Regions from separate parts of the Homo sapiens genome. Here region 2 is linked to region 1. The links are contacts of gene promoters, found by promoter capture Hi-C in human tissues and cell types (Jung and others, 2019). All regions are on one chromosome and are shown on one strand. Each heading gives the region's core, a stretch centred on a gene start or on the middle of the fragment in contact. The rest is flanking DNA. Distances are from core to core; before and after follow the strand shown.

Region 1 (5,179 bases), core at 2,341-4,840:
TAGTTTTGCCATTTCTGAATGATAAAACCTTTGGGCCAGGTGCGGTGGCTCACCCCTGTAATCCCAGCACTTTGGGGGGGCCTAGGTGGGCGGATCACAAGGTCAGGAATTCGAGACCAGCCCGGCCAACATGGTGAAACCCCGTCTCTACTAAAAACACAAAAATTAGCCGGGCGTGGTGGCAGGCGCCAGTAGTCCCAGCTACTTGGGAGGCTGAGGCAGGAGAATAGCTTGAACCCTGGAGGCAGAGGTTGCAGTGAGCCGAGATTGTGCCACTGCACTCCAGCCTGGGTGACAGAGTGAGACTCTGTCTCAAAAAAAAAAAAAAAAAAAAACTTGACTCAGTGCCACCCACTCATCCAAGGTGGGAGTGGGTGAGTAAAACTAACCACATTGAGATTCTAATTGTATTAAGTTATTAATTTTAGATAGTGACTTTTTCTGATATTAAGTCCTCCCATCCAGGAACATAGACTCTTTTCTCTTTAGGTTTTGTCTTACATCTTTGAATACAATTTCATAGTTTTAGTCCTATGTTCCCTTTGCTCCTTATAGTTCCTATCCCTTCCTTCCTAGATATTTTGTACTTCTGGTCACTTGCAAACAGGGTATTTTCTTCCATTTCCATTCTAACTAGATATTGCATAGACAAAGGAAAGCTATTACATTCTTTATTTCTGTCTTGCCACTACATTCTCTTGTTAATTCTAGTAGCTTATTATTTCTGGATTTGTATTCTAGAAATGCAATCACAATTCCTGAAAAATAAGGATAATTTTTTTTCCTGATATTTACACCAAGAAGGTCTTCTTTGGCTATACAACTGTGCTATGATGCTGTGCTGCTGTCCCTCCTAGCCGCTTCCCCACTGCAGGCATTTGTTCTGGCTGCCCACTGCTGCCCTGAGTGGTCGCCAAGGAATCAGACAGAAGCATTCTATGAGAATATTCCATGATTGCTTTGTTCAGGTGTCACCGATGACAACATAATACAGTAGTTCCTGGTCTCTTAGCTTGCATAGACTTCAATTCAGAGTCATTGATATGTATTTATTGAGCTTACATTTCTAATCATACCAGTCAAATTCCCATTTGGTCTGTTGCATTAGGAGACATGCCCAGCATTAATATCTAATGAGCTTGTCTGTCACTATCTGTCACATTATTCAGTTTTATTTGCCTCATAGCACCAATTATATTGGCAGGTGTATTATTTACTGAATTGTCTCCCTAAGACAGACTATATACTAGGCTATAAACCTGACTTATCTACCCTTTCATTTCTAGTACTTAGAATGAAAACATCTAGTAGGTCTTCAACAAATATTTGTTGAATTAATAAATGAATGTTGTTTTCTGGAAAATAATATACATTGTATTTAAGTAATGCCTTTTTTTTTTTTTTTTTTTTTGAGATGGAGTTTTGCTCTTGTTGCCCAGGCTGGAGTGCAATGGCACGATCTCGGCTCACCACAATCTCCGCCTCCCAGGTTCAAGCAATTCTCCTGCCTCAGCCTCCCGAGTAGCTGGGATTACAGGCATGCGCCATCACGCTCGGCTAATTTTGTATTTTTAGTACAGACGGGGTTTCTCCATGTTGGTCAGGCTGGTCTCAAACTCCCAACCTGAGGTGATCCGCCCGCCTCGGCCTCCCAGAGTACTGGGATTACAGGCGCAAGCCACCGCACCCGGCCAAGTAATTTCTTTTTATTCCAGTGTTTCTTAGTGTTATTAAGAATGGTTGCTGTTGGCCGGGCACGGTGGCTCACTTCTGTACTCCCAGCACTTTGGGAGGCTGAGGCGAGCGGATCAGCTGAGGTTAGGAGTTCGAGACCAGCCCGGCCAATAAGGCAAAACCCCGTTTCTACTGAAAATACACAAAAATTAGCTGGGTGTCATGGCGCACGCCTGTAATCCCAGCTACTCGGGAGGCTGAGGCAGGAGAATCGCTTGAATCCGAAAGGTGGAGATTGCAGTAAGACAAGATGCGCCACTGCACTCCAGCCTGAACGACACAGCGAGACTCCGTCTCAAAAAAAAAAAAAAAAAAAAAAAAAAAAAAAAAGCAAGAAAGAAAAGAAATTTGCAGTTCAAGGGACAGATCAGTCCAAGCACGGTGGTTCATACCTGTCATCTCAGCACATATGGGAGGCCACGGCGGGAGGATCACTTTGATGCTGGGAGTTGGAGACCAGCCTGGGAATCACAGTGAGATCCCGTCTCCACAAATAATTACTAATAATTTAAAATCTAAAGAAAAGGGGGGCGGGGAAGATCAGGTTATTTAAAGTAATTATAGTGTTAAACTTGACATATTAAAAAATGCAGAAATAGTTGTGAGGGATAACTCTCTGGGCAGAGATAGAAATGTATCGTATCTCAACATTTAAAATCTGCATTTCCCATTGGACCATAAGAGATGAACTAGGACCTAATTAATTGGGTTTTCTCCCCGTTTCTTTCTTTCTTTTTTTTGAGACAAAGTCTCACTCTATTACCCAGGCTGGAGTGCAATGGCAGATCTCAGCTCACTGCAACCTCTGCCTCCCGGGTTCAAGCGATTCTCCTGCCTCAGCCTCCAGAGTAGCTGGGATTACAGGCGCGCACCACCACGCCCAGCTAATTTTGCATTTTTAAGTAGAGATGGGGTTTCACCATGTGGGCAAGGCTAGTATCGAACTCCTGACCTCGTGATCCGCCCGCCTCGGCCTCCCAAAGTGCTGGGATTACAGGCATAAGCCACCGTGCCCGGCCTTCCTCCCCGTTTCTTAAAAAGGCTCATGTGAGTTGCATTTCCAGTCCTGTAGAGGTACGTTTAATACTTTTCAAAAAAAAAAAAAACTTATCAGGACTTCGTGAGAAACGAAAGTGGACACCCAAAGCAGCTTGCAGCCGGTCTACTGTTACTTTGTTTTAGCGGACCGACCTGTCTCCAAAATCGATTTGACCATAATGCTAGGATTTAACTAGGGCTTTAGTTTTTATTTCACTCCCCCACTTTACTGGTTTCAACCTATCAATCCAGACGCGTGTCTGGTGCAACGCTCGGGTTTATGGCAAAATCATCTCAGGCATTTGCTTAACCTTCTCCAGAAAGGCATTTTCAGGGGTTCACAGTGAGACGGTGCACAGGTTGGCACAGAGTTAGTAGGGGCAGTTTTGTTTCGATTTGCGGGCAAATCTCTAAGATCTCTCCGTTTAACTTTCGCCCGCAATTCCCAAAGCCGCTAAAGCCGTTTCCGGCGCTCTACCCCGCCGCAGGCCGAGGCTGGCGCAGAGAGACAGGAAGCGCCAGCTCTGGGCGTCTGGGTCCTCGCCTCCTCGGCCGCAGCCCCGCGGCGGCGCGCTCGCGGTGCATTGTGGGCGCTGTAGTCCGGCCGGAACCTGTTTGCGACCCCGAGTCCCATGACACCGCTTCTCCTCACACCCCAGTCCGCAGTGCCCCTCCCCAGCCTCGGCCGGGCCTCCCGGGAGCCGGGCGTGGCGTTCCAGCTAGTGAGCCGTTTCTCCCCTGGGCTCGGAGGCGGAAGCTTGAGGGGCGCGGGGAGGAGCTTCGCGTGCGGGGTGAACGCCCGCTCTACGTGCTCGTTCTCTTCGCGACCGCTGCGCGCGAGCCCCGTGTCCCCACGGCGGGCAGCAGCGGCGGCGGCGGCGGCTGAACGCGGAGGGGGCGGAGGGAGCCCGCGGCGGCGGCAGCAGCTACAGCGAAATGGCGGAGACCGTGGCTGACACCCGGCGGCTGATCACCAAGCCGCAGAACCTGAATGACGCCTACGGACCCCCCAGCAACTTCCTCGAGATCGATGTGAGCAACCCGCAAACGGTGGGGGTCGGCCGGGGCCGCTTCACCACTTACGAAATCAGGGTCAAGGTGAGGCCGTCTCTCCCCTCTCCCAAGAAACCCCTCCCGCTGGCTCTGGTCACCCCCACTCGACCCGGGAGTGGACCCCCGCGGGCAGCCACAGCCTCCCAGGCCGGGAGCCCCCTTGCAGAGGCGGGCCGGGGTCGTGAGCCAGGGCCCCTCTTCCTGTAGGGCTGGTGTGGGGGGCTGCAGAGCGAGCCCGGCGCGCTGGCACTTGGAGAAGGTGCTCGAAGAGGAGGGCGTGGGTTGAGCGCCGCTTGCCCCTCCAGCAGCTGATCAGGGAATGACATTTGAGTTGGAAAGGGGTAGATCTTTCGAGAACACATCCCTTCGCTGGGAAGGGAAAGAGATGTTGACAGAGAAAAGGGGCTTGCGCAAAGTTAAAGCCTTTTCCCAGTTTTCTCTTCCTGGAGACTTCCCAGAGGTAGCAAGCCAACCCGGCTGCTCCAGGCCCTTCCCGAGCTGCTAAAGTAACCTGGGTTGTGCAGTCTTCTGAACGGGACTTAATGAAAGTTCACAGAAGCCTGACAATTTTTGATAGGGCTGAGCCAGACCAGAAGGGTGATTGGACATGGTTGACTTCAGCATTTTGGGCCACCGCCCTGCCAAAGGCTGAGGTGTGGTGTCACCTACCTCATAATCCAGAACTACAGTTGCTTTAAGAAAAGACTAGGGATCTTGCTCTCTTAATTCGAGATTTGCACTTAATTGAATAAAGAAATCAACAGAAATAAAATATACCTAATTTCATAACTAGTATTTGTTGGCAATAATTTAGATGATTTGAAAGATGTTAATTGAAAATAGTGCTTCACTTTCACTCTATAATTCAGGATTAAAGAATTTGCCCATGTATGGAAGCATCTTTAAAAATTAATTACATTAATTTAAAGATGACAGCAAATTATTAAAAGTTAAGTGTAAAGCGATTTTTCCTTTAATCAAAATTTATATGACAAGCTACTATTAACATTTAAGTGAAAAAATTCTCATTAACTTACACACTTTGTGTCGTGAAAAACACAAAAATCAAATTTACCATCCTAACCATTTTTAAGTGTACATACAGCTCAGTAGTATATTCACATTGTTGTGAAACTTAAGTATTTTTAAAAAATGATTCTTACGTAGTTAGCATTGATTTTAAAAAGTTAATCAAACTTTAAGATATGAAACGAATAGTTTAATGTTTCAAGCCACTGTTGTCTTCTTATGGATGTGTAAAATGTGGATCATAGGCCGGGCGCGGTGGCTCATGCCTGTAATCCCAGCACTTTGGGAGGCCGAGCTGGGCGGATCACCGAGGTCAGGAGTTCGA
Region 2 (5,295 bases), core at 1,825-4,324, 190 kb before region 1:
GAGTTAATGGGTGCAGCACACCAACATGGCACATGTATATATATGTAACAAACCTGCAGGTTGTGCACATGTACCCTAAAAGTTAAAGTATAATAATAAAAAAAAAGTTTTTCTACAAGAACAAGATAAAAAGAAACCTAATTAAATCAAATGTTAACATAACCTCAGAAAATCTTCATGAAAGAAGTTCTACCCAAGTCCTCATGTGAAACAATATAATACACATCTCTAGCATCCTGTCTTAGTAACTCATATTATTTTCCCACTTCTGAGATGATTTTAATTGCTAATTCTCTTCAGGGATACTTACATATCTGCCTTCTCCTCTGACTGAGGGGTGCCCCCAGGCTTTCTATTCTTGACTATGGTCAAGCCCTTTGGATGTTAAATTCAGGAACAAATTTATCTTCCTTGAGGATTAAATGAATAGATAGATAGATAGATAATAGATAGACATCTATCTATCTATATATATCTATATGTCTGTGTATATATATGTGTGTATATATGTAAGTGTATATGTATACACTTATATATATATATATATACTTTTTTTTTTTGAAACAGGGTCTTGCTCTGTCGCCCAGGCTGAAGTACAGTGGTATGATCACAGCTTACTGCAGCCTCCACCTCCTAGGCTCAAGCGATCCTCCCATCTCAGCCTCCCAAGTAGCTGGGACTACAGGCAGGTGCCACCACACCCACTATTTTTTAAATTTTTTGTAGAGACAGGGTCTCCCTATGTTGCCCAGCTGGTTTCAAACTCCTGGGCTCAAGTGATCCTCCAACCTCAGCCTCCCAAAGTGCCTGGATTATAGGCATGAGCCATTGTGCCTGGCCTTTGAATTTATATACTTCTCAGGAAAGCTGGTCCAGAGTTTCCTGGTGTCCTTTGTAGGTCTGGTTTCCTGGACTCTGGACATTGTTAGTGTTGGTTTTCCTCTAGCATATTTTTAAAGATCAAAACTGAACTTCACTGGGTTAGAATGCTATTACTTTTATCAGGAAAAGGAAGGGGTAACACAGGGTAAGTCAGAGACAAAAAATGGCTACGCTCCAAGCAAAAGTAGCCTTTTCACCTCCAGTAACTTCCAAGACCTCTTTGGCACTATGAAACAAATTTTATAATTTAGACTCAGACTACCATCTTTATTTAAGGAACTCCCCATCAGGAAAATATTTTTATTTTTCCACATGAGGATACACTTTTTGAAAAAAAACAGAGAACAAGAATTACCTCCTTTAAAAAAAGAATAAAGAGAATAATAATTAATTAATGCATTGGTACCATACATCTGGAATATCAAGACACAGGTAGCAAAAAATCAGGGAAAGGCTGTGAATATTAGAAAAATAAAATATCCAGTAAACACAAACATAAAAGAAACTGGGAAGAAAAAGTCCAAGTTAAAGCAGAAAAATGTGCTCTATGAATTTTTTAAAATTATAAAGTACTTTAAAGACAAAGTACTTGAGGACAAATGAAGAATCTCCTATAATAATCATCAGGATCTGAATAATAAACTAAAATAGTCCCCTTGGTACACTGTAAAGTATGCAATTTTAATTATGTGATTTTTCTAGCTAATTTCTGCTTCAAAAACAGTAAAGTACTTCTGCTTACAAGGTGGCAGAGACAAGAACTTTTCTCAACCTCTCAAATGCACGTTGTCATCAAAATTTAAATTACCAGAAACATGCCTTTTAGTTAAATTACAATTAGTCCTTAGACAGATCTATTTACTGAGAATTTGCTATGTGCCCAACACTGTTGGCATATACTAAACAAGTTTGCTTTTTTAAAGCACTTTTTCCTTTTCACGTTCTCACAAAGGACATTTTAAAACAAACTATATTTGTTTTTCAGTATTAACTGCACGTGCTGAATACACCTATTATTATAAATCGCTCCTACTCAGGAGCATCTTAGCTTTTAAAAGACAAAAATATATCCAGTTGTATTTGTGTATATATATTGTAGATCAGTTATATATGGAAGTCAATCAACAATGATAAATACAAACAGATTGACAAATAAAACAACAATTTTGGGGGGAACGGAAATGGCACACTTGTCAGATGATATCCACAAATAATTAATTACTTCACACATTAAAGATATTCTCGTAATAATAGAGTCTCTTATAAAAGGATACTCATTACATTCTAACCATCTGTCATCATTCCACCCCAAAAAACTAATTAGGGTTTTGTCCAATCACACATTATAAATGATGCAAATATGGATGGTAAAGACACGGGTTGAAGAAGTTAACATGAGAACATTTGCAATTTAAAAATCATGGGCTTCAGAACCAGCCTTTCACGTTCCAATAATTAAACTGCTTATTTTTATGTTCTTTTTCTGATTAACGATTAGACATTAAACTTTAAAAATTAGAAACACTTACAGGTAGTAGAGTTTTCCTGCAGCAGGAAGTTCCCTTTTCCGGTAATCTATCCCAGAATCTAGCTGGACTGTATTACAATATTCCTACAATCCAAACAAATGAAGTGCCTTTTTAAACAAGTAGTGGCTCAGAATTACAATCCTTCCCTTATACTATACATTTTTAAAATTTTTCAAATGTTTGCTCAAAAACTAATATAATGAGATGACAAGAAAACAACAGAACTCATGCAAGATTCATAAAACTAAAGTTGCAATATTAAATATATCAAGCCACTGAAATATCAGTTTAAAAAAATTAAAATTTGCATCATGTTTTCTGAAACATTGCCTAAAAAGTGCTGTCAGCAAATTCCCCAAATAACTTCATCTGGGTTTTTTTTAAAATAGCCCAATTTCTAATACCCTGGAGTGAGAAACTAGAGGCTACCAGAAAGAATAACTCATGGGTCTTAAGCACCACAGGAGGGCAGAGGCAGCATAAGAGAGCTGGGAGTGGACAATGGTGGTTCACGCCTGTAATTCCAGCACTTTGGGAGGCTGAGACAGGCAGATTGTGTTTGTCCAGGAGTTTGAGACCAGCCTGAGCAACATAGCAAAACCCATCTCTACAAAAAATACAAAAATTAGCTGGGCGTGGTGGCACACGCCTGTAGTCTCAGCTATTTGGCCGGCTAAGCTGCGAGCATTGCTTGAGCCTGGGAGGTGGAGGTTGCAATGAGCTATGATCGTGCCACTGCACTTCAGCCTGGGCAACAGAGCAAGACCTTGTCTCACACACACACAAAAAAAAAAAAAAAAAAAAAGAGAGAGAGAGAGTTGGGCCAGAACATTAGTGTCCACATTTTAAACCAAATGACCAAACTAGAATGATGTCGTAGGTATGCCCATCCTTCGCTTCTAAATGGCTGCCACTGCCCATGTCTCCCTTTTAGTTTCCTCTCTGGCCACCAACATTTCAGTGCGCTTTCCTGCTGTGGATGCCTCCTTTCAACCCGAGTCACCCTGTGCCACTAATGCCCTTCTCTTCTCCCAAGTGCTCCTTTCTTTCCATTCCCCCAGGGTGCATATGTGCACACAAGCACATACACCACACACATCCCAAATTCTTACTTTGAGAGCAAATGTACTTTTGCAACACCTATCTTCTTGGTCAGTTGGATTTTGGGGGCAATGAGAGGAATATATGTAGGGGTGTGTGTGTGTGTGTGTGTGTGTGTGTGTGTGTGTGTGTGTGTGTGTGTGTATCTCTACATAGATGAGAGGCATACTTCATTTTATTGTGTTTCCCTTTATTGTGCTTCTCAAATATTGCAATTTTTACAAAGTGAAAGTTTGTGGCAACCCTGCATGAAGCAAGTCTATTGGCCTCAATTTTCCAACAGCATGTGCTCACTTTGTGTCTCTGTATCACATTTTGGTAATTCTTGTAGTATTTCAAACTTTTAAAAATTATGTCATTAATTATATGATCGGTGATCACATATTATGTGATCAGTGATCTTTGATGCTATTACTGTAATTGTTTTAGGGTACCACAAACTGCACCCATAGAAGAGGGTGAACTTAATTTATACATGCTGTTTGCATTCTGACTGCTATACCAACTGGCTGTTTCTCTCTCTCTCTCTCTCTCTCTCTCTCTCTCTCTCTCTCTCTCTCTCACCTTAGGTGTCCCTATGCTCTGAGAAACAAGAATATTGAAATTATGTCGATTAATAGCCCTACAATGACCTCTAAGTGTTCAGGTGAAAGGAAGAGTCACACATCTCTCACTCTCAACCAAAAGCTAGAAATGATTAAGCTTAGTGAGGAAGGTATGACAAAAGCCACAACAGACAAAAACCTAGGCCTCTTGCAACAAAAAGTTAGCTAAGTTATGATTGAAAAGGAAAAGTTCTTGAAGGAAATGAAAAGTGCTACTCCAGTGAACACATGAACCACAAGAAAGCAAAACAGCCTTATTATTGATATGGAGAAAAGTTTGAGTGATCTGGATAGAAGATCAAAACAGCCACAACATTCTCTTAAGCCAAAGCCTAATCCAGAGAAAGGCCCTAACTCCCTTCAATTCTATGAAGGTTGAGAGAGGTGAGGAAGCTGCAGAAGAAAAGATGGAAGCTAGCAGAGGTTGGTTCATGAGGTTTCAATAAATAAGCCATCTCTATAACATAAAAATGCAAGGTAAAGCAGCAAGTGCTGATGCAGAAGGTGCAACAAGTTATCCAGAAGACTTAGTTAAGATCATTGATGAAGGTGACTACACTAAACAACAGATTTTCACTGGAGATGAAACAGCCTTCTGCTGGAAGAAGATGCCAACTAGGACTTTCATAGCTAGAAAGGAGAAGTCAATGCATGGCTTCAAAGCTTCAAAGGACAGGCTGACTCTCTTGTTAGAGGCTAATGCAACTGATGACTTGATGTTGAAGCAAATGTTCATTTACCAATCTGAAAATCCCAAGGCCCTTAAGAATTTTGCTACATCTACTCTGCCTGTGCTTTATAAATGAAATAACAAAGCCCTTGGATGGCAGCACATCTGTTTACAGTATGGTTTACTAAATATTTTAAGCCTACTGTTCAGAGCTACTGCTTAGAAGAAAGATTGTTTTCAAAAGATTACTGCTCATGACAATCCACTTGGTCATCAAAGAGCTCTGATGGAAGTGCACAAGGAGATAAATGTTGTTTCCCTGCCTGTTAACATAACATCCATTCTGCAGCCCATGCATGAATCAAGAAGTAATTTCAACTTGTAAGTATTATTATTTAAGAAATACATTTTGTAAGGCTATATCTGCCATAAATACCTTTTGTGAAAGGAAGAGTCAATCTATATAGCAACCTTCAACATTATCTTAAGAAACTGCCACAGCCACTCC

Evidence for each region. The method cuts DNA at HindIII sites, captures the fragments that hold promoters and counts their contacts. A contact is called where the count stands out against the background at its distance.
Region 2: a fragment that was not itself captured here is called in contact with the fragment with the promoter of SNX3 in region 1 in 1 of the 25 tissues and cell types used here (H1 embryonic stem cells).

Annotation. Positions count from the first base shown.
Region 1 is chr6:108,259,451-108,264,629 of GRCh38, reverse strand. SNX3 (sorting nexin 3) reads left to right here and starts at 3,590. Exons shown (of 4, transcript NM_003795.6): 1 at 3,590-3,870. The coding sequence starts at 3,709. RefSeq lists an enhancer at 2,570-3,405 and silencers at 3,533-3,792, 3,903-4,012. The HindIII fragment of the contact is 13,682 bases long and covers 1-5,179 here.
Region 2 is chr6:108,444,413-108,449,707 of GRCh38, reverse strand. It overlaps AFG1L (AFG1 like ATPase), which reads right to left. Exons shown (of 13, transcript NM_145315.5): 8 at 2,412-2,494. Among named protein-coding and RNA genes, the nearest start is that of FOXO3, 110 kb to the left of the region's middle. The HindIII fragment of the contact is 5,786 bases long and covers 182-5,295 here.